6 separate regions of the Homo sapiens genome follow, and regions 2, 3, 4, 5 and 6 are each linked to region 1. The links are contacts of gene promoters, found by promoter capture Hi-C in blood cells and fetal thymus (Javierre and others, 2016). All regions are on one chromosome and are shown on one strand. The core of a region is centred on a gene start or on the middle of the fragment in contact, and the rest is flanking DNA. Distances in the headings are between cores, read along the strand shown. Region 1 holds the start of SLC25A37 (solute carrier family 25 member 37). Region 2 overlaps ADAMDEC1 (ADAM like decysin 1). Region 3 overlaps BIN3 (bridging integrator 3). Region 4 has its middle 24 kb from the start of ADAM28. Region 5 has its middle 51 kb from the start of ADAM28. Region 6 has its middle 70 kb from the start of ADAM28.

What was found. Contacts are between HindIII fragments. The CHiCAGO score rates a contact against its expected background, and 5 or more counts as called.
Region 2: a contact is called between a fragment that was not itself captured here and the fragment with the promoter of SLC25A37 in region 1, in 4 of 17 cell types (M2 macrophages, total B cells, M0 macrophages and 1 more). The highest score is 8.1, in M2 macrophages.
Region 3: a fragment that was not itself captured here is called in contact with the fragment with the promoter of SLC25A37 in region 1 in 1 of 17 cell types (neutrophils); the score reaches 7.1 in neutrophils.
Region 4: a fragment that was not itself captured here is called in contact with the fragment with the promoter of SLC25A37 in region 1 in 4 of 17 cell types (M2 macrophages, M0 macrophages, total B cells and 1 more); the score reaches 6.7 in M2 macrophages.
Region 5: a fragment that was not itself captured here is called in contact with the fragment with the promoter of SLC25A37 in region 1 in 1 of 17 cell types (total B cells); the score reaches 5.7 in total B cells.
Region 6: a contact is called between a fragment that was not itself captured here and the fragment with the promoter of SLC25A37 in region 1, in 1 of 17 cell types (total B cells). The highest score is 5.3, in total B cells.

The regions. Positions count from the first base shown.
Region 1 is chr8:23,527,279-23,531,150 of GRCh38, forward strand. It overlaps SLC25A37 (solute carrier family 25 member 37), which reads left to right and starts at 1,678. Exons shown (of 4, transcript NM_016612.4): 1 at 1,678-1,934. The coding sequence starts at 1,725. RefSeq lists enhancers at 1,372-1,421, 2,712-2,781 and silencers at 1,552-1,911, 1,962-2,211. The HindIII fragment of the contact is 6,335 bases long and covers 1-3,872 here.
Region 2 is chr8:24,399,191-24,403,062 of GRCh38, forward strand. It overlaps ADAMDEC1 (ADAM like decysin 1), which reads left to right. Exons shown (of 14, transcript NM_014479.3): 10 at 203-284; 11 at 980-1,110; 12 at 2,725-2,902. The region is part of intron 1 of ADAM7-AS1 (ADAM7, ADAMDEC1 and ADAM28 antisense RNA 1); the gene reads right to left. Among named protein-coding and RNA genes, the nearest start is that of ADAMDEC1, 17 kb to the left of the region's middle. The HindIII fragment of the contact is 4,870 bases long and covers 1-3,872 here.
Region 3 is chr8:22,664,952-22,668,823 of GRCh38, forward strand. The region is part of intron 1 of BIN3 (bridging integrator 3); the gene reads right to left. Among named protein-coding and RNA genes, the nearest start is that of BIN3, 2.2 kb to the right of the region's middle. RefSeq lists a silencer at 3,870-3,872. The HindIII fragment of the contact is 2,246 bases long and covers 719-2,964 here.
Region 4 is chr8:24,267,769-24,271,640 of GRCh38, forward strand. No RefSeq gene overlaps it. Among named protein-coding and RNA genes, the nearest start is that of ADAM28, 24 kb to the right of the region's middle. The HindIII fragment of the contact is 4,732 bases long and covers 1-3,872 here.
Region 5 is chr8:24,241,380-24,245,251 of GRCh38, forward strand. No RefSeq gene overlaps it. Among named protein-coding and RNA genes, the nearest start is that of ADAM28, 51 kb to the right of the region's middle. The HindIII fragment of the contact is 762 bases long and covers 1,837-2,598 here.
Region 6 is chr8:24,222,229-24,226,100 of GRCh38, forward strand. No RefSeq gene overlaps it. Among named protein-coding and RNA genes, the nearest start is that of ADAM28, 70 kb to the right of the region's middle. The HindIII fragment of the contact is 1,021 bases long and covers 1,384-2,404 here.

The sequences.
Region 1 (3,872 bases), core at 428-2,927:
GATTCTTTTCCTGAGCACATTTACATCTTTGTGAATGCAATGGTTATAGAATTTCGTTTTGTTTTTTTCACCTAACATTACATTATAATCATCGTCCATGTCGTGTAATGTAAATTCCACTTGTAAAGGCTGCATAATATTTCACTAATATTATGCACACATCATAATTTCCTTAGCCATTCCCTTCTGGTTGACCATTTAGGTTGTTTCCAATGATTTACTGCTCTAAGGAATGCTTTGAAGAAGAGCTTCCTGTGTATTTGGGTTTTTGTTACATTCCCAGAAGTGGGGCAGTGGGTTCTTACAGACTTAATGCTTAAAGGGCATCCACTTAAAAATAAGGATCAACAGCTTCTGATCAGTATTTCTTAAAAACGACCTTTGACAAAAGTAGAGTTTTCTCTAGCCATTACAGAGATGGCTAAGTAAAAACACAGAGCCTGTTTTTACTTATCACATCCTTAGCACTCAGCTTGCCAGCTACTATCTGCAGCTACCAAAACTAGGCAAACAGTGCTCTTGGTCCTGACGCCTCTATTGACCTCTACCCATGCTCACATTACTGTATCTCAAATCCCTAAGAGCTGCTTGGGATGCTGATCACGGTGAGGGCAGAGAGTAGGCTCAGCCTCTTCAGGGTCTTCCCCACCCTTTCATATCTCAGGATCCAGCTTTCCTGACGAGAAGCCTTGTCTAGATAAGGCAGGGAGGCCCTGGTGCCTACAAGTTGATCAGCCCAAGTCATCTTAAGCCCTGGAACACGCAATTTAGACGGACACTTCCAGAGGCAGACAGGTCCCTCCCCTACTTTCTGATTTCTCCCTTTTTCCCCAGACTGGAGCAAAACAATATTAAAACAGCCTGGGTTACACTTTATTGAAGAGGCCAGCTTAGGACGACTTTAAGAACTAGGTGACCACAGTCTTAAGACAGGCAGGGGCAAGGCTGTAAGATTTTACTCTCAGCCAGTTCACACTCCTAACTGTGAGATCAGGCCTCTACAGACCTTATGGGCCTATCAAACCCAAAGAAAATTTCCTGGAGGTGCCTACTCAGAGGGGCTCCCTCCTGGTCACTCCTTATAGCCTTGCTCGGTCCAGGGCAGGGTGGGTTCGGTCTCTCGGTGAGAACAAGAGGAACACATTTAGCTCTGCATTATGTATTTAGGTTGAGAGAAACAATTTCGAATGAATGGGGGTCTCTCCAACAAAGCAGTCTAGAACGGGCCCCTGAGGTTTGAATTCAGGCCTTAGGAATGCCAAAGCTCACTGAGCGATTCTGTTTGCAAACCCACCCGCCACGGGGACGGATTTTCCCCGAGACACTGTCACCCATGCCTCCAGCTCTGGGCATACCCCACTGCGGCCCCTCCCCAATGACCTCCCCTGCCCCTCGCGGACCAGCCCATCCTCAAGATAGTACAACTTTCCGGGCCACCCCACGTCTCCTCTCGCCCCCGTCCGGTTGCTTGGAAATGTGCACGGGACGGTGACGTCACACAGGGAGGCGGGTCCCCACTGTCCCGCACACCAATGGCGCGGCGGCCGCCGGCCTCTTGGTTCCCGGCGATTGGTGTCTCTGGCCGCTGCGCTCCACCCCAGCCCGCCATGGCGTCAGGCGCCGCGGCCCCGGGGAGGTGGCTCCCACTTTAAGAAGTGAAGTTTTGCGCCCCTCCCCCTCCCTGCCCACCTCCTGCAGCCTCCTGCGCCCCGCCGAGCTGGCGGATGGAGCTGCGCAGCGGGAGCGTGGGCAGCCAGGCGGTGGCGCGGAGGATGGATGGGGACAGCCGAGATGGCGGCGGCGGCAAGGACGCCACCGGGTCGGAGGACTACGAGAACCTGCCGACTAGCGCCTCCGTGTCCACCCACATGACAGCAGGAGCGATGGCCGGGATCCTGGAGCACTCGGTCATGTACCCGGTGGACTCGGTGAAGGTGAGGCGCGGGGAGACTTCGGGGACGCAACGAGCGGAGAAGGAGCGCGCGCGCGCATTTGCATCCCGCGCGCCGGCAGCCTCGGGGCAGCGTCCCGAAACCGAGCTCTCCCCAGGACCGCGGCTGGCCGGGGTCGCCCCAGGAGCAGCTGCGCGCAGCCTGGGCGCCGCGCCTTCCGCCGACCCCGCGAGGGTGCCCGGTCCTCGCCCCGCACCGCCCGCTGCTCCAGCCGCGTGCCCGGCCCCGGCTGCTGGCGGCGCTGAGGCGGGGGAGGCGGAGTGGCGAGCACCGCTGGCTTCGGCGGCGACTGGGCTCCCGGGGGACGCGATCGCTGAAGCTCTGCACAGTCTTACCACGCTGGCCGTTCGGGCTGGCTGGGGCCGCCCACACGTGCGCGGTTTCCGAGGGAGCTCCCCGCAGGGGAAGCCCTCACCACGCTGGAGCTGAGAAACGTGTGGCCCTGGCCCGGCCGCGCGCCCTCGGGACTTGGTGTGTGGCTGCTGCTCCCCGGGTTATTTCGGGAACTTGGGGCCGGCAAGTCTTCTCTCGACTAGTGGCAGCTCTTTACCGGTTCGACAGCGGCCCGTGGGATCCCCTTTCTGAGGGTTCCTGCACTTCTTCCCCCGACTTTGGGTCGCCGAGCCGCCGGGAGGCAATGACGTTTGCCTTCTCCTTTTGCTTGCGGGGAGGTGGGTGGGCTTGTGCCTTACAGCCCTTGCTGTGGATTGTGTGAGAGGCACTCAGTTTCCTTTAAACCCTGTCTGTCACTTGCCCCGGTAGTTTTAACTGCATTTCTGTAAAGAGGCAGCGTTACTAGGTGCGTTTTGCCTGGTAGACTGAGACCTGCCCTCTGTCAGCCTGCCCAGAACACCCCAGGGCCAGGATAGAGTAGTGCAGGAAGTAATGCCAGTATTGACTGTTACACGTTGCACTTTTATAGGCATAACTCGCCTAATTCATGCAACAGCCCTGGGGGTTAACAGATGAAGAAACTGAGGCGCAGAGAGGCGAACCGATTACCTTGCCCAGGCTCCTACACCACCTCCTATCCTCTGGCTGCAGCTGCAGTGTGCTTTGGAGGATTCGGAGGCCTCTCTAGGTGGCAATTATTTTGCAAGGCAGGTCCCACAGAGGCACCCCCAGCAGCTTTATCTTGTTGCTGATGCTGGTCCTGCATGAGCAGGTATGAAGGCCAGAAAGTATAACTCAGAGGGTTTTCCCGGCTCCGGGGAGCTCGCTTGGAGCCAGCAGTCAGTGTCTGGACAGGCAGAAGTCCAGTGAGGAAAGACATGGGCTTCCAAGGTGCTGCTGGACCTAAGCCTGAGCCATCACCCATATGTCCCTCCAGTGTCCCAGTGGGGAGTTAGAGGAATGGTTCTCATCTCCAGGAAAGACACTGGACTGATACCAGGTGGCATTTGTATGGGAAAGAATCCCTCAAATGTAATAAAATTCTCCATGATTGAAGCTGTTGTCTCAACTGCCCTGGGCAGAGTCTGGGGAAAGTTAGGAGCAGGGAGGTGTTATCTGAGCAGGCCCTAGTCCTACTGGTGTCTTGAGATGAATGTTCTATTCGGGAACCCCACAGTGAGTTCACTTTAGAGCATCATTTTAGCTTATTTTTAGGATTAGAAATAATTAGTTGTGCCTTCTGAGCACCCTTTGACACTCTCAAGAGGCGTTTCTCACACGTTTAAATTGTGTGATCTGTGTTTAGTTTCTCCCTGCCCCATACATGTTGATATGTTTTGGTTCAGATGTCACCTGTATACTTAGTATTACTTTCCATAGCAGTTTTCACCTGTGGACAGGTTAACATGGTGTGAATGGTAGAAGGAGCCGGTCTGGTTTTCCTAGACAAGTCTGTAAAACAAGGCGTGGGTTAGCTAATCAGTGAAGTCTTCTAGGTTCTGGGATTATAACTGACCCTTAGGGGCC
Region 2 (3,872 bases), core at 511-3,010, 870 kb after region 1:
ATCAATAATCAGATGATAGAATGAGCTCTTGGATATAAGATAACCATCTGTGGTCATAACACTAAGGAATAGTAGAAGTTTTTTGGGGCCTAGTGAATATAAAAAGGCTAGGGCAGCGAGGCAATTCGTTAATGTAATTAACAAAAGCTAATGGTTACAAAGACTCAGATTGTGACAGTAGTATCTGTAACTTTTCATACAGCGGGATTAGCTTCAACAATCGACGTGTGGGACTGGCAGCTTCAAATTCCTTGTGTTCCCCATCTTCGGTTGCTGTTATTGAGGTTTGTAAATTTGTAGTAAGGCTCTCTGTGGTTCTGTATCCTCTATGAAGGCCAGCATAACACCTTATATAGAATGAGCAAAATGAACATTTGCTGAATCAATGAATCAAGGAAGAAATGAAACTACTGGTAGGTCATTGCACTGAAGATCCCTTGGGTTATGCGACAGAACATTTCCTTACATCAGCCTTGCTAGAACGTGCCATATCATTCTTTAGTTCATGTTAGAAAATCAGAGTAGGAATATTGGAGCAGAAAGGGCATCCAGTACCCTCTGTGGCCTGGGCTAATACTAGTCATCCCCAGTATCTATGGCCAGAGAGGCCAGACAAGGAAGAAGGGTGCATGCAGGTGTCATATGGCCAAGAACTCCAGTGTCATAGGTATCATAGCAATAGGTTTTGGAGACCTCCGATATGGTGCCTATGAGTACTTCCTATGAAGAATGTAATTAATTCAACCATGATTTACTGGTAACTTAGTATCCATTAGTTCAACAAATATTTATTGAATAAAATGTAAGTATTCATAGGACCCAACCACTTTAAATGCTCTTTCAACGTTTTGCAATACACAGTGACAGGGAAAGGAGCTAACAATTCACTAGTTTTCATCTCTTAAGCCATTTTTAAAGTACTGCACATTGGCAACAATTAAATAAAAAAAGAATAAATAAATATATCTACTTTTTCCAGGCTAAAAAAAAGAATAATGTGGCTCTTGTAGGAGTGATGTCACATGAGCTGGGCCATGTCCTTGGTATGCCTGATGTTCCATTCAACACCAAGTGTCCCTCTGGCAGTTGTGTGATGAATCAGTATCTGAGGTGAGACCTTGTCATCCTAAAAGGAGAGAGATATTTTCCAAATCTTTTTTTTTTCTGAAGACACATATTATTCTCTATTGTTTAATTAAATATTAGATCTTGTGTTGTTCCAAAACAGATTTTAAAATTGTTTATAAAATACATACTAATCAACAGGATAGATTGAAAGTGTTACCCAAAAAACAATCTTAAAACGTGTAGGGTAACATATTACATTCTTAACCTAGTCTTGGATTACAGTAATCTGCTGATATATGTTTCATAAAGACATCAAAAGTGCTATTTTACAAGTAAATTATGTTTAGGGACACTTGCAATGAATGTTTCTTTTCATATATATATATATATATATTATACTTTAAGTTCTAGGGTACATGTGCACAACCTGCAGGTTTGTTACATATGTATACATGTGCCATGTTGGTGTGCTGCACCCATTAACTAGTCATTTAGCATTAGGTATATCTCCTAATGCTATCCCTCCCCCTCCCCCCACCCACAACAGGCCCCAGTGTGTGATGTTCCCCTTCCTGTGTCCAAGTGTTCTCATTGTTCAATTCCCACCTATGAGTAAGAAAATGCGGTGTTTGGTTTTTTGTCCTCACGATAGTTTGCTCAGATTGATGGTTTCCAGCTTCATCCATGTCCCTACAAAGGACATGAACTCATCATTTTTTTATGGCTGCATAGTATTCCATGGTGTATATATGCCACATTTTCTTAATCCAGTCTATCATTGTTGGACATTTGGGTTGGTTCCAAGTCTTTGCTATTATGAGTAGTTTTCCAAATCTTTAAGAATTCGGAAGCAGTCTACAGATGTTGAATGGACATATCTTTTCCCAAGGGTTGTGTATCCCATTAATTCAACTTCCAGTCTCTTGATGCACAAATTTTAAAAACTACCAGGGCTCATTCTTTAAGATTTCCAAATATGCCAAGATAGAGCTTGCACGTATGATGACCTTATAATTTTAACTTAAAATAATTCCAACTGAAAATGAACCCATAGTTTCTAAAAATATTAATCTCATTATGTTGATGACAGGATCTTCTTATATTCCCATCATCAATCAACCAATCAATCTGTTTTTGCATATTTATGAATTACCTGTGAATGCCAGGCACTTTGCAAAGACTTTGGGATAGAAAAATAAATAAAACATACTTTGTTCTTGAAATGCTCACAAAGAAGGAGAGAAATATTTCCATAAAGCCCAGAAGCCTGCAACTACTTCCCTTCACTGGTTCATTATTATTATCTCTTGCCCCTCAATTCTCAATGCAAAATGAGTGGATAATTACAAATGGTGATGGCTGTCACTGCTGTCCTTTAGAACAACATTAAATGGCCACATGGAAATTGAAATCCTTCCAGCTCTGTGACTTAGGCTCTAGGAAGAAAAATGTCCAAATACCATAGTATGCATGCTCTACCACCCACCACATTTAATACAGGGCAGTCCTAAATGGTTGCCAAATTTGGAATTTCCATTGAGCTCGGTAATACAGTTAGATAAATCAGAGTCTCGTGTTTCTTTATCTTTATTCTGTGTTTCACGCAGAAGGCACCACACTGTATATCATATTATTTGAGTTTTCTTCTGATTACAGTTCAAAATTCCCAAAGGATTTCAGTACATCTTGCCGTGCACATTTTGAAAGATACCTTTTATCTCAGAAACCAAAGTGCCTGCTGCAAGCACCTATTCCTACAAATATAATGACAACACCAGTGTGTGGGAACCACCTTCTAGAAGTGGGAGAAGACTGTGATTGTGGCTCTCCTAAGGTATTATTTATTAGAATTATTGGGGCAGAAGAATTATGCAGTTTTCTTTTTGTTTTCCAATATTCTTTTGGAAATTCTTTCTAAAGACAAACTTGGCATCGTAGTTAAAAAGGAGATTTGTGCTTGTGTTTTTGCTACTGAATTTAGTAATCCTTTGAAAGGCATTTCAAAAACTAGGACTTGATTTTGACATAATTATATGAAGTTAAATGTAAAAAAGTAAATTGTTAACTATAACATGTCACTTGCAATCTTTCCAAAACGTGTATTAGTCAGAAATCCCTAGACGACATAATGTCACAGTTGATCATCTGTTGAACAGTAACAATTAGAGATCTAGAAGTAAGTTCTACTCAGAGGGAGAGTTGGTCTTTTCTCATCAAGCCAGTGTATAAACCAGGTTGTAAACAGAGAAGAAAGAGGAAAAGAAAAAATAATCACAAAAATCTGTAGAAAATAGGCTATTAACATAGAACATCCAGAATAAGCACTATGATTCTGCTAATTTATATAAATTAGACTCCTTCAAGGCATTTATGTACTCTAAAGAATGCTGATCACTAGCAATCCCATTGCCTTCTAAAAGATATTCTGTTGCTCCACTGGTGAAGCAGGATGCAGTCCAAGAAGTATCCATTACTTAAGATGGCTCTGTGACAATGAACATGGCGTCTAAACTCTCTATGCTTCAGTTTATGTATTCAGAAATTTTAGCTGGTTAGATTAGATCAGAAGACTACACAGCCTAACTTAGTCATTTGTGAAGAATATTGTAAACTTTCTGTTAATTATAAAGAGGCATGGAATTTTACAAAAGATTTGACATTTTATAGCAAATTAGAGTTACGTTTATCTCGTTCTTACTTGCTTACATTCATCTATGGTTTCTTGGGTGGAAGACAATTGAAGATACTCAAAACCCTAGGTACTTCTGGTTTCAGCAAGTAAATGGTATGTATTTACAGAGAAG
Region 3 (3,872 bases), core at 592-3,091, 860 kb before region 1:
CAATTACCTGTTAGATACCCACTATGTGCATGATACCCACTATGCGTACAAAAAGATGAAGAAGCTCTATGTCGCTCCTGTTCTCATGGGGTTGGTGTGGAAGGGAGGTGTACGTCTGTGATACTCAGAAGGATGCAGAAGTGCTACAGGAGAAGCACTATGGAAGTACAGAAGAAACCCAGCAAAGCACTTTGGAGTGGAGGATCAGAAGGAGTGGGGAGGAGAAATCACAGGCAGCCTGACCTGGAAGCCACTTGTGTCGGTCAATTTAACAATAGTACTTTCAGAGGCTCTTCATTTTAGGAAGTGGTTTGTAGGTTCTGCAAGTTTTTATCTTAACATTTTTCCTGAGCTGAGGCAAGTCAGGAAAAGGGAAAAAAGGCCCCATTCATATATTTAATAAACACTTCCTGACTGCCAGGAACAGTGCTAGGGAATAGCAATGACCACAAGACAGTCCCCATACTCAAGAACTCACAGACAAGTAAACCAGCCAGCGGAGTACAGATGCTGATGAAGGTCAGAAGAGCGGCACCCAGTGCAGCATGGCAGGGTGTGAGGGGCCACTCAGGGAAGACCCTCAGAGAAGGTGAAGCGTGGCCTGACTCTTGAAGGATGAGTAGATGCTGGCCTAGTGGACAGGGTGTGAGTGAAGGGGAAACATTTCAGGCAGAAGGGACAGTTATCCAGAGGCACATGGGCACGAGAGAGCAGGAGAAGCTTGGAGGATGGAACACACGGAGTGAAGATGGACAGCCAGGCCCAGAGGGCCTCAGAAGCCCTGGCCCAGAGTTGGGCCTCTATCCTGAAGATGATGGCAAGGGACTACAGGGTGAAAACAGGAAAGAAACAAAAAGGATCAAACATGAGGAACACCAAAGTGTGAAGGGCAGACAGAGGTAGAAGACCCCGGAAGAGTCAGAAAAATATCACTCCACTCATTTCACAGCAGGCTCAGGTGGCAAATTGTCAGCAGGAATGGCCACTCCATGCTACAGATGGAGAAACTAAGACAGAGAACAGCTCAATGCTTGACCAGGCCGCACTGTGAGTGGCTGAGCCAGAACCTGAACGCAGCACTCTAACTCCTACTCACACTTACCTGCTCTGCCTCTAATTTCCTTCCTTTTTGTCAAACTACTGGACCCCTAGGTATAGGGAGATTTCTTCCAGTACTCCCTTTTCCTCCTCGTTTAAGCCTAAAATCATCAAGGTGTATGGTTCAACAGGAGGCTACAATTCCTGGAGCCAGCTTAGATTGAGGTCACTATTCTTAATTCTACTTAATCCTCTCTCCATACCATAATAAAGCCACCTGAGTATACACTGGAAGATGGGGAAGAGAGACAGGAAGGGGAAAAGGGAGACAAGAGGGAGACAGAAATAGGGAGGGAGGGGGTGAGTGGGGAGGAGAGGAGAGAAAGTTGGGAGGGGGGCAAATGGCGGGGGGAGGTGGGGTGGACAATGGGAGAGAAAAAGAGAGCGAGAGAGAGAGAAGCATTTGGCTTGAGGCCAAGAAGTGAATCTGTGATCTGAGATGTGAATATCAAATGCCTTCTTCCTAGTAGGACAGACCACCGGGTCACTTTTCTGAAAGGCAGATGGGTGTATGGGGAGTGGATGGGTAGATGGTGCAGGAAGGCAGCAGGTACCCACTAAACAAACAGGGGGTGGGCGGGTTGCCTGCACAGAGGAAGCAGAGAACAAAGGCCTCTCACTCTTCATGCAAAGTCCACAGTGTGCAAAGGGCATCAATATTGGACATTTCTCACTGTGACATTTTGAAAGCTCAGCCTAGCCCAGAACAATGGTTACCCTCTGGGGACCATGGGCCATGTGCCTTATTTAATGATGGCTTGGCACAGCCCATGTACTTGGTGAACTTGACCTTGGGCATCAGCCTCCCATGATGGCTCTACGTCACTCTGGTCTCTTCCCCTAATGAGAATTCCAGTCTCACATGAATGGATGGATTCATTCTGGGGGCAGGAAAACCACTCAGGGAGTGAATCAGAAGGACCCAGCCCCGGTCTCCTTGCCAGCCATTGAGCTAGGAACTGAGTGTGATTGTGTGCCCAGGCGCCGGTGCTGTTCCCGTCTTTGAGAGACAGGGTCAGGGTCCACGCAAGAGATGACGTAGAAGCCCTTTAAGGGGGAAGAGAAAGGAATCTCAGCTTTGAGGGACAAAGCCACCCTTCTGGCTGTGACTCTCAGTCCAAGGAGATACCAAGATGTGCATGTACTGGTAAATTAAAGCTACTAGATGAAAATCTCAGCTCTTGTTAGACAGTTGTCAATCTCAATTCTCTCCAACCTGACAGGATAACCTTTAAGGAATGGGCTACTATTTTTTCAGAAGGGAAACTTTCTGTGAGACAGGTGGAAACAACCTGCTTCGGATCACCCAGAGAATCATTTACCTTTATTAGTTTCTGCTGTGCTCTTCTCCCAACTTGTGAAGGAAAGATTGGTTCAGTAAAGGCCAATCTAGGCAATATAAAGCATCTGTACTGCCTCATTTTCACTTTGAAAAATTAGGTAAGAACACTCCAAAGATTCAAGACGCAGCAGCCAAAAGGATATCTATATTGCAAGACTGGGGGGCCCAGAATGACACTGAAAGGACGTAATTCCTCTGGGAAAGGGAACTGAAGAATTGCCGCTTTGCCCACCACTAACTAGGTTATAACAAGACAGGGAAGGTAGCTTTTTAAGGCTCCAGCCCCTTATTGGCCTCCTGGAGCAAATGGTGGAGGGAAAAGCAGAAGCTCCTGCCGGGGCTTATTAGGACATTGCTTCAGGCTTTCCTCCCGTGCTTGCGGTGATTGTCTGACATTTGTCCATCAATCTTGGTCTAAGAAACAGGTGGGGGAGGGGACAGATGGTTCGCATTTTACTTTAGAGAAGTATCCCTGACACTGACTGATATCAGCTGCTTGCGTTCTCCACTGATGGCCAAAATTAAGCTTCAAAAGCCTTCCTGAAGGACATTCTGTTATCTTAATTCATTCATAACTGGTTATCATGCGCTTTGCATAAACAAACACACTAGCCTCTGAGGACAGAGTGGCAAATATGTTCCCTATGTCCATGGGCTGATTAATCTTGTACATCTCTGGGGCTCAATTTATTCACACACTATAGTTGAATCCCCTGAGGTCCAGGGTTGTGGCTATATAGGTCCTTGGGCCTGACGGTAAGGTAAGGTGCTGCATATGAGTATTCTCTAACCTCTAAGAAAGCCCCAGGAAGGCAGGCAAGTCACAATTCTCTCCTGTGAACATAAATAATCGAGAGCAACAAATGGGGATTGCCTTTTGGGCAAACTGAGTCTTACAAAATAAATACACCATTATGAAGTGTCTACTATGACCCAAGTATCACATCATACTGCAGCAACTGGAATTGTGACTCTATTACTCTAAGACTCCCTGGCTTCTTTTCTCATGGCATGATAGTTCCCATAAGTTTAAACTTAACCATGCCTATTTAGAGGGCAGGCAGTGAGTAATAGCTCTGGAATGATTAAAACCAGTCCAATCCCACAGTGGAAGGGTGTGTGCGGAGTGTAATTCTGGCCCCTTTAAAAAGAGAAGCAAGTTTTCCTTGTCTTTTGAAGCCTGCTAAGTCGTGCAAAGAGGATAGTTACCCAGAAGGGAGTGGGTTTTGATTAGTGAACTGGGTCCAGGCTGCCACAGCGAGGGCCACAGCTCTGGAGGGACTGGCGCGGGGCAGAGATGCCCACAGGAGAGAAAGACGACACTGACTCCACCTCAATGGGTGTTTAAAAAAGGAGGGAACAAGGAAGTCCCTCACTTCAAGGAGCTAGGAGGACGCGAGTCCGGCAAAACGGGTCAGACGCGGAGTCCCAG
Region 4 (3,872 bases), core at 697-3,196, 740 kb after region 1:
CTATCAGCCATATAACTTGTATCCAGAAATCTCCTCTGGCAACAACAGTTCTGGACAGCAAAAGAAACTCAGAGAATATCATACCAATCCAGCAGGCAAGACAGGACCACTTATTCCTGGGTCTAGAAAGGGTCATGTTTCCTTCTCACATCTGCTAAATATGGAGAGGAGCAGAGACTGTTTTTTGGATCCCATATTATTTAAGATGGACTCAAGTGCTGCATGGGACTGACTAAACCTTTGGGTGGGACAGCAGTAAGACTGCCATGAGGAGCTGGGTGTAGTCAGAGGCAGGGATGTTGCTGAAGACTTACAAGAACAATCAAAGTGATGTTTCAGAAAGATCCATCTGAATGGGGAGTACAGAATGCTCTGGAGGAGAGAATTTGCAGACTGGAAAATTGCAGAAGTCCAGGCATGGCAATGTAAATGGAAGTCGGGATGAGCATGGTATAGAAACTACAGGTGAATAGAACGGCTTGCCAGTATTAGGTGGGTGCAAAAGTAATGCGGTTTTGCCATGAAAAGTACTAGATTGAGAGCTTAGGAGAGCCACTACATAATTTACTGTGACACACAATTCTATCAACAGGCCAGAACAACAGGAGAAAACCAGGACCGTCCCAGGGAAACTCAGATGTGTGGTCACTGTGGATACAGGGTTCAAAGCACAGGAAGAGTCCAGGTAGATTTTGGGTTTGGTCAGCTCCTGGGAAACTTAAGTCCAGCCTACTTGGAAGTAGAACTGAGCTCTCATACATTCTGTATGATATGACACAGGATCACAGGGTGTGATAAATCAACTAGGTATCCCTGTCTTTTTGTTTAGCCCTTTTTTTTGCTTTAGTTAATAAGTTAATAAGACTCAAATGTGAAGTATTAGTACTGTAGTACTCCAGACTCTGGACTCTTACTAAAAGTAGTTTCAGAGTTTCCCAAACTATCTTCTGAGAAATACTGCCTAAAATGATGTGATGATTCAAAAACATATTCTCAAATTTTTGACATTCTTCCCGTTAAGAGGAGTAGTCTAATTCAGCGGTCCCCAGCCCCGGGCCATGGACCATTACTGGCCGGTGGCTTGTTAGAAATCAGGCTGCACAGCAGGAAGTGAGCTGTGGGTGAGTGAGCATTACCACCTGAGCTGCACCTGCTGTTTGAGAATCTAATGCAGCCACTGATCTTAGTGTGGCAGGCCAATTCTCCCTGATAATCACACAGACAGGCCTGCATAGCACCCAGTTACACAAATTTCCACAGTGCTGCCTTAACATTGAGCAAATAGTTAAACCTAGGGAAATCGGTGCCCAGACATCAAAGCCAGAAATGAAACATACGGCCAGTAGTAGCCTTGCATGGGCTTCTCCCTTGCTGGAGCAAGTCAAAATAATAGAAACAGTTTTACATTCCTAATGCCAGGACCAATCTTAGGTCGACAAAATCTGAGACAAGTCAAGGTAACAGAGACAGCTGTTTGAATAGATTCATCGGAGAGTCTAAGGCAGCCCTCAGGACCAAGCTGTAAAGGAGATATGATGGAAATAATCACTCCAGTACCACAGCAGACAGGCCTTGAAGGCACTGGGGCCCTTTTAATCGAACTTAGTATTTTTTTGCTTCTGACCTTCTAGTTAAAACAAAATTAGTTAACAATAGACTTAGGCAAATGCTATACTGTACGTAGGCACATAATCCCAGCCTACATAAGCACTCGCAAAATTGTGATGCTTTGAGTTGGTCTGGTGGAATTATCTCCAGCCTTCTCCCTGTATCTAGTTACAGTAATTAACTTCCTTCTTTCCTTGTCTGCTTCTCATTATTGGGCCTCGAGAAAACACAGCTGGGTCTGGCATGGTTTGGGGAACAACAGGAGTGTGAACCCTATTGTGAACTGTGCACGCGAGGAATCTAGGTTGTAGACTCCTTATGAGAATCTAATGCCTGAGGTGGAACAGTTTTATCCCAGAACTGTGCCCCCCACCTCCATGCCCCTGTTCCGCAGTGAAAAAATTGTCTTCCATGAAACTGGTCTCTGGTACCAAAAAGGTTGGGGACCATTGGTCTAATTCCTCCTCCCTTGAATGTGAACTTGACTTAGTGTTTTGTTTCTAATGAATAGTATGTGGTGAGAATGACACTGCAGGGCTTTTGTTTTGTTTTGAGACGGAGTCTCTCTCTGTTGCCCAGGCTGGAGTTCAGTGGTGCTGTCTCAGCTCACTGCAACCTCTGCCTCCTGGGTTCAAGTGATTCACGATTCTCCTGCCTCAGCCTTCCGAGTAGCTGGGACTACAGGCGCATGTCACTACGCCCAGTTAATTTTTGTATTTTTAGTAGAGACTGGAATTCACCATGTTGGCTAGGAATGTCTCGATCTCTTGACTTCGTGATCCGCCTGCCTTGGCATCCTCCCATAGTGCTGGGATTACAGGCGTGAGCCACTGTGCCTGGCTGACACTGCATGGCTTTTGAGGGTAGAACATAAAAGACGACACAATTTCCACCTGGTCTGTCTTGGGACACTTGCCCTTAGGACTCAGATGCCAGGGTCTAAAGAGAACCCAGGCCACATGGAGCACCTTTGTGAGGGTGGCCCAGATGGCGCCTGGCTTGGCTTGGGTCCCAGGCAGCAGCCGCAGTTACCACCAGACATATGAGAAAATGTGAGCCTTTAGATGTTTCCAGACCCAACTGCCGACTAATGACAATTGCACCAGAGGCTCTAGGCAAGAAAGTCCTGGCTAAACCCAGGCACATTCTGGAACTGTGAGGGATACAATACTCATAAATGTTTGTTTGATGAGTATATTAAAGTGTGTGTGGTAGTTTGACTGGCTGCCATAAAGAATTAGAACAGATAGTAAACATTTTTCTACCAGAAATAGTTCTATGATCAAATATCTTCTGAAAATTCTATGTATTATTTTGGTTTGTCACCAGGAAAGGTAACTCAACTGAAAAAATCATGACATCTATACATTTGGAAAGAAGACTTTATTTCTTGTAAAGAGTTACAGCCTGCAAGGTGACCCTTCTGATAGGCCAGGAAGCGTAGCCTCCAGCAGAGCCCTAAAGGCAGGCACTCTGAAGCAGGGGTTGGAACAGGGATTTGTGCTGAATAGGTTGGCTAAGTATTCAGATTCAACAGGCTATAGGAGGAGCTATTAATATCCATGAAGGGGATCCTGATGCATGTGTACTGAATAAACGTGCATGTTACCTACCACCCATGTTCACATTCCACCCTGGTGGAACAGGGGCTTATGAGTCAGGGTCTGATGGTTGGTGAGCTGCATATGTTTTGATATTGCTTATCTCAAGGCTAGTGCTCCATTAGCTGCTAGAGAAAAAGAAAAGCCTTGTAGCAGTTACAACATAGTTTATTCTTTAAGTGTAGGAGTGCAGGACTTAACCCTTGCCTACATGACCTTAGGTCTCATTTATAATTTAGTATCTTATTGCCACAAAGAGTCCATTCTGTCAGTCTTATAATCTCTATTTTAACATTAATGCTGGTCAGTTGTTATGTCTAAGGCAAAAGGCAGGAGATACAACAGAGTGTGTCTGACCTTCCATTCCATCGTGACTTAGGTTTTAAGGTTTCTCTGAGGTCCTCTTGGCCAACAGGGAATCTGTTCAGTCAGCTGTGGGGCTTAGCATTTTATGTTTAGCTTTCAAAACACCTTAAAGTTTCTGAGAATTTGTCATTGCTTAGATGGTACTTTCAATGACACCACCCTCCCCCACCCCTTGCCTTTTTTGGTAGCAATAAAACTCTTAATGTCTCAAAAATCACAATGTTTCACACAGCACAGTGAAAATACTTAGAAACACTCTCGGTTTCAACGTGGTGTTATAAATTGTTGCTACAGTAT
Region 5 (3,872 bases), core at 968-3,467, 710 kb after region 1:
AAAGTGGCCCTTCCTGTACCAGTGGTCAGTGTAACCCCTTAGAACTAGTAATAACCAACCCCCTTCATCCTCGCTGGAAAAAAAGGGAGCATGTAACCCTAGGAATTGATGGGACTGGACTGGATCCTCAAGTAAATATTGTGGTTGGAGGAGAAGTTTATAAATGCTCTCCTGAGCCAGTATTTCAAACCTTCTATGATGAACTGAATGTGCCAGTACCAGAAATTCCACGAAAAACAAGAAATTAGTTTTTGCAATTAGCCAAGCATGTAGCCCAGTCTCTCAACGTCACTTCATGTTATGTATGTGGAGGAACTGTGATAGAAGATCAATGGCCATGGGAAGCCCGAGAATTAGTACCTACAGACCCAGTTCCTGATGAATTCCTGGCTCAAAAGAATCACCCTGATAACTTCTGGGTCCTAAAATCCTCAATCATTAGACAATACTATATAGCAAGAGTGGGGAAGGACTTCACCCTTCCTGTGGGAAGACTCAGCTGCCTTGGGCAAAAACTGTATAATAGTACTACAAAAACAGCCACCTAGTGGAGTTCAAACCACACTAAGAAAAATCTATTTAGTAAATTTCCAAAGTTGCAAACCGTTTGGAACCACCCGGAGTCCCACCGAGACTGGACAGCCCCCACTGGATTACACTGGATATGTGGGCATAGAGCTTACACCAAATTACCCAACCAGTGGGCAGGTAATTGTGTTATTGGCATTATTAAACCATCTTTCTTCCTACTGCCCATAAAGACAGGCGAACTCCTGGGCTTCCCTGTCTATGCTTCCCATGAAAAAAAAAAAAAAAAAAAAAAAAAAGCATAGCTATAAGAAATTCGAAAAATAATGAATGGCCCCCCTGAGAGAATCATACAATGTTATGGGCCTGCTACTTGGGCACAAGATGGCTCATGGGGATACCGGACCCCCATTTACATGCTCAACCAAATCATACGGTTACAATCTGTCTTGGAAATAATCACTAATAAGACCGGCAGAGCCTTGACTATTCTGGCCTGGCAAGAAACTCAGATGAAAAATGCTATCTATCAAAATAGATTGGCTCTCGACTACTTGTGAGCAGCTGAAAGAGGGCTCTGTAGGAAATTTAACCTTACTAATTGCTGTCTACACATAGATGATCTAGGGCAAGTAGTTGAAGACATAGTTAGAAATATGACAAAACTGGCACACGTGCCCATGCAAGTGTGGCATGGATTTAATCCTGGGGCCTTGTTTGGAAAATGGTTCCCAGCGCTAAGAAGATGTAAAACTCTTACAATAGGAGTTATAATAGTAATAAAACCCTGCTTACTGCTCCCTTGTTTGCTACGTGTATTTCTTCAAATGATAAAAAGCTTGTAAGCCCTTAAAAGGGACAGGAATTGCTCACTCAGGGAGCTCGGTTTTTGGAGACGTCAGTCTGCCGATGCTCCCAGCTGAATAAAGCCCTTCCTTCTACAACTCGGTGTCTGAGGGGTTTTGTCTGCGGCTTGTCCTGCTACACTAGTATAATATACCATGTTAGTCAGATTGCTAATATTATTGTGTTTGCCTGGAAAAAGTAAAATATCTTGCTTTACCCTGTGAGTTGCTATGTTAATGGGTACACAATATAAAATAATGTAAAGCAAGACACCAATAGCATAAAATGTGTATGCAAGAGGAGAGGGGAGTAAAACTGTAGAATTTTTTATGTTATTAAAATTAAGTTGTTATTAGCTCAAAATAGACCTTTGTAACTATAGAATGTTTTATATAAGCCTCACGGTAACTGCAAAGAAAATAACTCTAGTAGATACACAGAAAATAAAGAATAAAGGATCAAAGCTTACCGTCACAAAAAATTAACAAATCACAAAGACAGCAAGGTTGGAAGAAAGAAAAAATGAAAATTGAGTATAGTATGTATCTTTAAGTATTTTCCATTTCATTCATATTTTCCTATTTATGTGCATACAGTGCAAAGTTGTATTCTACATATCTTTTTCTCAATTTTTGTGGTTATTTTCCGTCTTTTCAACCTTTATTTGTGCAGCTTGCCTTTTTTCTTGATAAGATTTAGATGATTATTTTGTTACAGAATTATTTTTCATTTTTATTAATTTTCTTTTCTCTTTTCTGGTATATTTCTGCCTTTAACAGTTTCTCCTTTCATTTTCCTTCAGTTGATTTTGTTTTTTCATACTTTTGGATTTGTAAGTTTAATTCATTTATTTATTTTTAGTAAGGCTATAAATTTTTCTCTGAGCTGTACTTTAACTGTAGTCCATATACAAGGGTGACTAGATCACTATTTGGGGATACTGTGAAATTTTTGCTTTATTTCATCACCAACTCACAGACTATTTAAGACAGAGTCATTTTTATTTCCAAAAGATAGGAAGTCTTTGTTTTCTGGTGTTCTTGGTAGTTTCTAGCTTATTGATAGAATCTTTTTGAAGATGTTTTGCTATACCTGTTAGAAGCAGCTGAAACAGTTTGTGGGAAACTCATTGAGAATATTACTGATTGCCAGTAATATTTTGGCATTAATTTCAGGGTCTGACTCATTCTCACTCAGACTTTGTCATAAAAATAAAATGTGTGAAGCTTAGGACTTTTAAAAAAAATGTGAAATCAAATAGGGATTACTAAATTTAGTAATACAGGTTTTCCTTCTGGAGTGGTTCTAAAATTAATTCCAAAATAATTCCAAGACATGATCTAGGGCAGTGGTGGAATATCTTTAGAATAATTTAAAAGGGAGATAACCTCCTATGGTGGATACTTCGAAGTAAAAAACATTCACATGGATTTGCAAATGCTGCATTGTTTGAAAACATTCTCATTTTGTCAATGCAGTCTTATTCAAAATATACTAAATTTGAAGTCAGCTACTTGAGTTAATATCCTGCCTATATAACTCATCAGTTGTGTTACATTGAGCAAGTTCCAGAACTTCAGTGACTCGATATTGTCATAGGTAAACATACAGTAACAAAGACTTTCTTAAATGCATGATTTGAGGATTATAAATATTATTTATTTAAAGCACAAAGCTCAGTGCTGGCCATAATGAAGACATCCTGCAAATGGTAGTTATTCCTATACATACTGATATGGTTTGGCTGTATCCCCACCAAAATCTCATCTTGAAATCCCATGTGTTGTGGGAGTGACCTGGTGGGAGGTAATTGAATCTTGGGGGGCGGGACTTTCCTGTGCTGTTCTCCTGCTAGTGAATAAGTCTTATGAGATCTGATGGTTTTAAAAATGAGAGTTTCCCTACAAAAGCTCTCTCTTTGCCTGTCGCCATCCGTGTAAGATGTGACTTGCTCCTTCTTGCCTTCTGCCATGATTGTGAGGCTTCATCAGCCATGTGGAATTGTGAGTACTCCCTTAAACCACTTTCTTTTGTAAATTGCCAAGTCTCAGTTATGTCTTGATCAGCAGCATGAAAATGGACTAATACATGTATTGATATCAAAACCACCAAAGTAGGAGCAGAAGTATAAGGATCTTGTCCCACTCATACTATATTGTACTACTTTCAATTTTGTCAATCAGTAGATTGTAAACTTTTTTAAGGAATAGAGTTTATACATCTTCCAAAGAACCCAGATATATGATGAATATGAAATTGTTACTCAACTTTATGAATTTTTGCATTCCTATTGAGCACTTTAGATTGCTCACATAAACATTAAACTAAAAAAGCAATCTGAGAGTGCTTACATTTCTCTTATTTTGGTGTTTCACAAAAATATTTGATCACTAGGTGGCAGCAATACGTAGAGAAGGAGCCTGAAGATCTGACGTTCGCTTGCAAAAAGTTGGCTCTTCTGCACAATCACAGCCAGCCTGTCAGCCTCCCGGTTGCTG
Region 6 (3,872 bases), core at 644-3,143, 700 kb after region 1:
TTCTAGGCTTCTTATTAAGTGAGATAACTAATTGCCTTTGAATTACTGTTAGCTGGGAGTTATGCTGTTTGTGGGCAAAAATTATCCTGTTGAATCCACTTCTTAAGGCCCAACCCTTATCACTGCTTCTGATCTCAGCAGCTGACATCACCTCCTACTTGACTAACAAGCCCCAAACTGTCCACACAGCTGGGTGGATAGTGGCACAGCTGGGTCATCTCTCATTCTATCCTGGGTCAATCCCCTTCTAGCTGGGTCATATCCCATTTGATCCCACAGCTGCGTCATATCCCATTCTATCTGGGTGGATAGTGACACATCTGGGTGTGCCACAGATGGCACTCCCTTTCTCCCATTCTATCCTCCCTTTCTCCCATTCTATCCTCCTTTTCTCCTATTTAATAGAAGGGAGTGCTTTTTCTTAGCAAAATTAACTCATTTATCTGTTAGAGACCATCAGCTTGTTCTTGGTCTAGGACATGGCTCTACCAATTCCTTTATTTCACCTGAACCTTTAATCTTTTTGTTTTATGTGCCTCCTCCTCTTCCCACTAGTGAGGGAGGGATTTCCATCTTAGGGTTGTGGGGAGGACCAAACTCATGACACTCAGCACTGTGCCTATGAGATCAACAACAGTGTATTAGTCACAAACACTCACAGCCTAGGGGAAGAGGACATCACATGCCACGCATGGGGCCACGTAGGGATTACATTGAGGGATATCATAAACAACCAGAGGCTGTGGGACGTTAGCGGGGCTTTGCAGCATCAAAGCGGGAGGTATCTTCTGGTTCCTGTAGGAGCAATGTGATGGGCTTGTTTGATATTTCTGTGGACTGGCAAAAAACTGAAGCCTGCTACTTAGGGATAAGTATTAAGTGTCCCTGGTCCCCGTGATAAGGAGGGTTGTTTGACTAGGGAATCTTGTCCAGAAAACAAATGTGAACATGTGGCTTTTTAATTCTAGGCAGATATGATCATAATCTTAAAATATACTATTTGTATCTTTAAAAACTTGTTCTTTTCCAATTTGATGAATACTTTTCTATTCTTTGAAGCAAAACTGCAATTGCTTTTGCACCAACCTAATACATCAACAGTATGTGATTCATGAATGTAATGTCTTTACCCCAAGGCCCCATGTTAGATACTGAATTTGTGATGATACACTATTGTTTTATTTTCTTGCTGAATATTCTTATGGCTAGATATTTGCACATACAGATAATTGTTTTCCTTTAGATACATTCTAGGAAACAAATTTTGTCAAAGAGTTTACAAAAAGCATTAACTACCTGCTTTCAATTGTCATACAGTTTGCTCTGATTCTGCTCTTAAAAATATTCTAGGGTTCATATTTCTGTGTATTTTTGATAACATCAAGCTTTATTCTATTTTAATTAACTCCAATGGAATAAGTTAAAGTTGTCACTCTCGTTTAAATCCTTGTTTTCCCACCCATTTACTGGCTATATATATTTCTTCTTTGATAAACTAAGTATTACTATTTTCCATTTTCCTATGTAAAGTTCATATAATTTTAAGATGAGCATATAATTTTTTTTCTATAAATAATTTTTAAAATGTCCCTGTAACATATTTAGTGATAAAATATTGGGGGATGTGGGTATTTTTAATTAAAATTATCTAGTTTTTAGTAAGAGGCCTTTCACATCTAAATATTCAGGTTTTCTTTATCTTAGGCCAGTTTTCTCCTTCCTTTATTATGCCTTCTCAGCTCACTTTTTTGAAATTTCACTTACAATGACATTTGACATCTCTGTTCTGTTACCTATAATTCTGATTGTTTCTTAACACTTTTGTATTTATTGTCTTACTCTGATTTTTCTAGGTGACTTCTTAAGATTGTCTTCTACTTTAATAATTTAAACAGTTCAGTTCCTCCACTGCACTTTTTCTGTTTAGTAATCATATCCTTATTTTCTATAGTGACTTTTTCCCCTCCTCTTCTAAATTCATAGCTGCCATACTCTCTCAGATTTCTTTGAAAGTTCAAGATTTTCTGAAGTCCTCGGGTTCTGATTCTTTCAGTAGCTTTCACAAGATATACTTACTGACTTCTCCTTTATTTATATGGATGTTTCTGTTCACTGCTCTGGTACTAACAGGTTATATTTTTCTATTTTATGTTTTTATTTCAGGACCTTTGATACAAAATCTTTTTCTATTTCAGAGAGTCAAAATGGGTGTTTTTAGAAATATATCTTTCAAGTCTCTATTTGAGTTAACAAAACTCTGCAGGACATGAAAAAAATTAGTTTTATTAAGGTTTAACTATGCCAGATCATATATCCAGGACTTTTGGTGAAAATAACGGGCAGTATTCCGCACAGTCAAGTTTGCTTCTGCACTACAAAGTTTCTTTTACATAGTTGTTATGGAAGCTTGAGTATAACTCAGCCGGTGACACCCTCTCCAAATTACTTTGTTAGTAGCCAATTGGAATATCAACCATATTTCACTTAGAGTATTCTTCACTTAGCAACACAAATGAGTGACTTCAAAAGAAGACTCTCTAGTTCTCCAAGAAGCTAGTAGATGGAGATTAGGCCTTTACCAATCGCCCCAAGAGACATCTGCACTTCTAGTGTTTTATTTTTTAAGCTAGAAGATGGTATTGTAGTTCTGCTAGGTAATAAGTGCTATTTTCTCCAAATACAGACTTTTGAATTGTGATGAACAGCAGTTCACTCAGTAATTTCATCAATCATTTCTCACCTGCGGGTATATTGCATATAGCCTTCTTCAACACTTTCCAAACATGAAACTATTCCCTGTATAGTGTCAATACACATTTTTCCCATTATTTCTTAGGATTCTTTTTCCAAATAACTTTTTTTTTTTTTTTTTTTTGTGAGATGGAGTCTCACTCTGTCACCAGGCTGTAGTGCAGTGGCACGATCTCGGCTCACTACAACCTCTGCCTCCCAGGTTCAAGTGATTATCCTGCCTCAGCCTCCTGAGTAGCTGGGACTACAGGTGCACACCATCATGCCCAGCTAATTTTTGTATTTTTAGTAGAGACAGGGTGTCACCATGTTGGCTAGGGTGGTCTTGATCTCTTGACCTCGTGATCCACCCACCTTGGCCTCCCAAATCAAATAACATTTTTTATAGATGTAACAGGTAGGTTCTCTTCTTTTTACATTAAATGAGTAGTTCACACCCTTTCCCCTAATTTCTTATCAATGACTCATTGTTTAAGTCTTTCAGTCTACTTCCTTGTTATTTTAATTACTTCCTATCTAATAACAGGTTATTACTTCTTTTCACTCTCTGTGTCAGTCAGAACAGGCTAGTTAATGCTGTATTAACAAACAGTCCCACAATCTATGGCTTTAAAGAACTAAGATGTATTTCTTATTCATGCAACATGTCCTTTGTGGGTTGGGAGAAGAATCGAGTTCACATTACACGGCACCCTGTGCTTAGTCCCAAGGTAATGAAGCAGCTGTTATCTAAACGTTCTGTCACCTAGCAGTGGAAACAAAAGGAGACATGGGGAAGTTGTCACTGGCTATCAAAGCTTTCAATGGAAAATAACACAAGTCATTTCCAATCACATTTCATCAGCCAAAACAAGTCAGGGAAACAGTCTTTAATGTACCACAAAGGGGAGAGAGGGCTGGAATATTTATGGACAGTTCTAATAACTACCACATTTCCTATCATTTCTAACCTTTAACACTATTGCCAACCCAAACTTCTAAAAATGTCCTCTTTGTTTTCCACAACACAAAATACCAATGGCCTCTTTCCCTAGCTCTCTGATTGTTTATCATAGTTTTCTCCAACTTTTCTTTTTGCAATGACCTAAGTGTAGTTGATCCCTAAATTTCTATCTTTGTTC